2 separate regions of the Homo sapiens genome follow, and region 1 is linked to region 2. Evidence: promoter capture Hi-C in 16 types of primary human blood cells and fetal thymus (Javierre and others, 2016). All regions are on one chromosome and are shown on one strand. The core of a region is centred on a gene start or on the middle of the fragment in contact, and the rest is flanking DNA. Distances in the headings are between cores, read along the strand shown. Region 1 has its middle 19 kb from the start of MIR107. Region 2 holds the start of SLC16A12-AS1 (SLC16A12 antisense RNA 1).

The links. Contacts are between HindIII fragments. The CHiCAGO score rates a contact against its expected background, and 5 or more counts as called.
Region 1: a contact is called between a fragment that was not itself captured here and the fragment with the promoter of SLC16A12-AS1 in region 2, in 1 of 17 cell types (M0 macrophages). The highest score is 5.4, in M0 macrophages.

What each region holds. Positions count from the first base shown.
Region 1 is chr10:89,572,595-89,575,365 of GRCh38, reverse strand. No RefSeq gene overlaps it. Among named protein-coding and RNA genes, the nearest start is that of MIR107, 19 kb to the left of the region's middle. The HindIII fragment of the contact is 2,050 bases long and covers 466-2,515 here.
Region 2 is chr10:89,454,548-89,457,310 of GRCh38, reverse strand. SLC16A12-AS1 (SLC16A12 antisense RNA 1) reads right to left here and starts at 1,320. Exons shown (of 3, transcript NR_120614.1): 1 at 1,063-1,320. All of the region lies in intron 3 of SLC16A12 (solute carrier family 16 member 12), which reads left to right. The HindIII fragment of the contact is 4,427 bases long and covers 1-1,527 here.

The DNA.
Region 1 (2,771 bases), core at 241-2,740, 120 kb before region 2:
GAATTAGACAGTTTTTGTATTGGATTGTTCTTCTCTTTTCTCTTCCACTTCACTTTGTTCATGAAATTTGCTGTTGCTATTTTAGCAAAGTTCAACATCTAAAGAATTTATGCCATTTGGCTGCCATGACACAGATATAAATTATGTTTGTTTTACCACATTCCATAGTGAGGTAGGTGGTGTATGTCTTCTCATATATCTTGAAAATATATGTAAAATTTAATTTTAAAGACAACTTAAACTTTAAAATAATTATTTTTCATTAACTACTCAAGCTTATTTATCCTGACATATGAAATATATTTTCATGATATATTCTTAAACTTTTCTAGCATTCATATTCTCTATGCATATTTGGATGTGTACGTGTTTTTGGCATATTGGGGAAGAGATAGTTAATCCTGCAAGTTGTGGATCTAGAGTTTGTATTAAAATTATTATTTAGGAAGAGTACATTTTTAAGCTTAATATTTGAACAGTTTGTCAAATGTCACTTTATTTTAAATATAAGCCAAAAGTATTTTTGAATTAAGCTCCATAAGTGGGTTGAAATTTGGTAAATTAAACATTATTGTGAATTTTAAACATTTTTAGGCATTCTCCTTTGAGATTTGTTTACTATTTATATTGGCTTTATACATTTTAAAATGAGCAGTCACTTTTCTGTCTGTCTGTTCATGTGCCAACATCAACATTGAATTTATCAAGTAGTTATTTATACAATGTTTAGACAGGCAAAATGAAATGGAGAAGTGGGGCAATTATCTGTAGATCCCACCCACACAACTTTCAGCAACTCTAGAGAAAATGGTGTGGTTGTCCAGAACAATTGAGTTTTGTTGGCTGTGCCCTGAACATTTAGTCAATTACACAATTCTTCGTGTCCTTTAGCCTGTGTTTCTACAGTCCCTGTCTGACCTCAGCTGCTCATGGTAGTCTTCTGTGGTCCTTAATTAACTATGAAGATTATCTCAGCAAAATCAAGCTGTAGGGGTCTTTGTCCATGGAATGTTAAGGACCATTTCATCTATGGCATAATCCATTTTAATGGCCATAGAGAGAGATTTTATGAAGATATAGCCACACTTAGAAATTAACTGCCTGGCGCGGTGGCTCACGCCTGTAATCCCAGCACTTTGGGAGGCCGAGGCGGGAGGATCACGAGGTCGGGAGATTGAGACCATCCTGGCTAACACGGTGAAACCCCATCTCTAACTAAAAATACAAAAAAAAATTAGCCAGGTGTGGTGGCGGGTGCCTGTAGTCCCAGCTACTCAGGAGGCTGAGACAGGAGAATGGCGTGAACCCAGGAGCAGTGAGCTGAGATCGCACCACTGCACTCCAGCCTGGGTGACAGAGCAAGACTCCGTCTCAGAAAAAAGAAAAAAAAGAAAAAGAAATGAGAAATTAACACTTTAAAAAAGGTATATAGTGTTAGGATTTGAAGTTTTAAAATAAAACACCATGGCATGCATAGTTTTTGGAAGCCAAACAAATTCTAAATACACTGGTATTCAAACTTTTAAGATGTAGAGATTTAGTAATTCATTAGTATTAATTATTGAATAATTGCTACTTATGTTTTAGTGTCAGTTTTTATTCATTGATCCAGTCCTGCAGAAGAGACTTTGGAAGCATTAACTGCATCTTGCATTTCAACTCAGGAGAAGTTCATTTTAATTACTAAGGAGTAGTTGCAAAATAGGTTCAAGGCCACTCCCAAAATAAACCTACCAAGTTTGAGAAGTGAAAATTACACTTTTTGCTATTATTCTAATTTTTAAACTTCTAAATAAATGTTGAACAACTATTTGGAGAATATCAGTAAAAAAGGTGCCAAATTATTAACCTGCATTGAACTTTCACAAGTTCTGACCTGGCACTGGATGGAGAGGTAGAGCTTGGACCAGAAGTGACCTTTAATATCCTTCCCAACCCAGAGCTTCTGTGAGTGTGAGAACTGGGCCTTGACCCTGCCCTTTACAAAGCTACCATATGGGGTCCCGGCGCAGTGACTCACGCCTGTAATCCCAGCACTTTGGGAGGCTGAGGTGGGCGGATCACGAGGTCAGGAGATTCAGACCAGGCTGGCTAACACGGTGAAACCCCGTCTCTACTGAAAACACAAAAAAATTAGCCAGGCGTGGTGGCAGGTGCCTATAGTCCCAGCTCCTTGCAAGGCTGAGGCAGGAGAATGGCGTGAGGCCAGGAGGCAGAGCTTGCAGTGAGCCAAGATTGTGCCACTGCACTCCAGCCTGGGCGACAGAGCGAGACTCTGTCTCAAAAACAAACAAGCAAACAAACAAAAACAAAACAAAACAGAACAAAAAAAAAGCTACCATGTGGGAATAAAAGATGTTTCCAGGAAAGAGAGTCCACAACAATAATGACAGCTCTGATGGATTAAGCCTTTCATATGCTTGGCACTCCCTGTACCTAATCTCCATTAATCCACTCAGATGATGAATAACGTGGGGATTCTTATCTTCATTTTACTGGAGAAAAGACTGAAGCTTGAAGAGGCAAAGGAACATGCCAAGAGCATGCCATGAACAAATCGTCAAGAATCCTGAAGTGGCTTTCTGGGAAAAATCAAGGCTTTTTTGGGACTAAATGATCCAGAGATTTGCTTCCATTTTCTAAAAGGGATTGTGTATAGAGGCAATGTCTGAATGTGTATCTATCACCTTTATCAGTCATATTATTGAAATTTCTGCATACTCAGGCTTAAAATTGCACATTGGCTGGTCTGAAGTTCTAGCTCAAGTGCC
Region 2 (2,763 bases), core at 71-2,570:
ACTTTTTAATGGGGTTGTTTGTTTTTTTTCTTGTAAGTTTGTTTAAGTTCCTTGTAGATTCTGGATATTAGACCTTTGTCAGATGGATAGGTTGCAAAAATTTTTTCCCATTCTGTAGGTTGTCTGTTCACTCTGATGATAGTTTCTTTTGCTGTGCAGAAGCTCTTTAGTTTAATTAGATCCTATTTGTCAATTTTTGCATAGAAATACCATTTGACCCAGCAATCCCATTACGGGGTATATACCCAAAGGAATATAAATCATTCTATTATAATATAAAGATATATGCACACGTATGTTCAGTGCTGCCCTATTCACAATAGCAAAGACATGGAATCAACCCAAATGCCCATCAGTGATAGACTGGATAAAGAAAATGTGGTACATATATACCACTATGTATATACTATGCAGCCATAAAAAGGAATAAGATCATGTCCTTTGCAGGGACATGAATGGAGCTGGAAGCCATTAACCTCAGGAAGCTAACACAGGAACAGAAAACCAAACACTCTGTGTTCTCAATCATAAGTGGAAGCTGAACAATGAGAACACATGGACACAGGGAGGGGAGCAACACACACTGGGGCCTGTCGGGGTGGGGGAGTGGGAAGAGGGAGAGCATCAGGAAAAATAGCTAATGCATGCTGGGCTTAATACTTAGGTGATGGGTTGATAGGTGCAGCAAACCACCATGGCACACGTTTATCTATGTAACAAACCAGCACATCCTGCACAAGTAACCTAGAACTTAAAGTAAAATAAAATAAAATTTTAAAAAATGAAAAAAAAAGAATCATACTTCATGTGTAATTGCAGGCTATTCTGTTCATAAATTGGCCACTTGAGTTGGGTTGATACTTAAAAAGCAATGTTTGATTTAAATGTCCAAAACCCTGTCCCCCTCCAGGTCTGAGACCTATTTTTCTCTAAGTCTACTGGGTCCAAATTAACTTAGGTGCAATATATGTCTAGAATCCTATGGGATTGTAGAGTTCTTTTGAACTCTCTTAACAATAGTTGAATTCTTATAATAATTGCTAACTTTAACTGAGCACTTACATTGTGCATGTTGGCATTCTTCAAGCATTTTTTATGGATTAAATCATTTAATCCTCATAACACACAGCAGTTGAAGAACATGTCCAAGGTCCCATGGTTAGTAAGTGGCAGGACTTTTAGCCACTAGGCTGCAGTGCCCAGTAGATCAATTCTAGTATGCCAGATGTTGGCAGCACTCACTGTATAGGAGACAGAGAAAAATTTTACAGCAGAGTGGCAAGATTGAGACAGCAGTCATACTGGCCTCTGAGAGAAGGTATTTTTGAGAATGTCATTTCGTCACAGATGACACTTGGTGATACTTTGTTTCCACATTCTTATGAACAGAGCCTATGAACACTGAAAGTTGTTAGGAGTTGTTTGCTACTGCAGCATAATCCAGCCCATTCTGACTGATGCAGTCATGTTTACCAAAATGCTAATTTTAGAGATAAAGAAACTGAGGCCCTGAGGGATTAAGAAGCTTTATCAAAAACCTCAGTTACCTAGGGTGAGAACCAGGGATCAGGACCCTGCTTCACTGTAAAATATTCCAAAGAACAACCAAAATAATAAAAATAATTTCTGGAGTGAGATGCACACATGCTCCCAATAAAATTTCATTTATTTAATATCATGCCTGTGTTCAGAGGCATACATCATGAAACTACTACTCAAAAAGTTCTGTGGTGCTTTTCCCCTTTGAGAACAGATAAGTGATAAAATATTCTTCCCATATTTCATGAAAGTCACAATCATTCAGAAGCCTGTATGTGGTTATTAGAAAGTTTGCCTTTGTTAAGCCTGCTTACATGTTTAGACAAGAATTTCAGGTATTAATTTTGATTTCTGTATATCTAAAGTTTGATTCATATGACTGATTAAGTCATCTAAGAAAACCAGCAAGCAGAAATCAAAGTAACCTTTAAAAAAAGTGACAAGGGACAGACATGGTTACACTACTAAGTTCCCCAAAACAATTTAGTGAAAAAAAGAGATTATTATTTATAATTTGAAAATATCATCATCTGGGGGCCCTTTTCTCTTAGACATCATGTGATCCTCTTACATCTCCAGCTTCTGCATCTCCCTCTTGTGGATTTGTTTTCTCAGCTTGTAACACTCATTTTCTTCACATCCCTACTTTACCTCACCTAACCACATGTTCCTATATAGCTACCATCCAGTCTTCCTCCTTCTTCCCTTTCTCATTCATAGTTCTTGAAGTTGCTACTCAATCATTTTCACTTCCTTGTCTTCTAGTCACTTCCTCTACCAACTTTAATCCTTCCTCCTTTCCTTCCTTCCTGGCTTGCTTCCCTTGAAAAGTGTTTTATGAACACCAAGTATATGACAGGTACTATACTAGATATTTGGGATTCAGTGTGAGATAAGACAGACATGGTCTTTTCTGTCACAGGGTAACAGTCTAGTGAAGAATATAAACAAATGCAAAGGAAATTGCCACACAGTGTGATAAATGTCCAGCATGTAGTTGAAACACGTAAGAGTGGAATCAAGAGAGACTTGAGTGGTCAGGGAAACCTTCCTGGAGGAAGGTTATCTTGAGACTAAAGAATGTGGGAGGTTGGGAGAGCATGCTAGAAAAGAAAAAAAAAAGTGAAGGCTCAAAGATATTAAAAAAAAAATCATGGGTGATGTGTTAAAAGAGGCAAGCAGAAGTTCAGTATTGCTGAAGTGAAGAGCCCAACAGATGCGCAG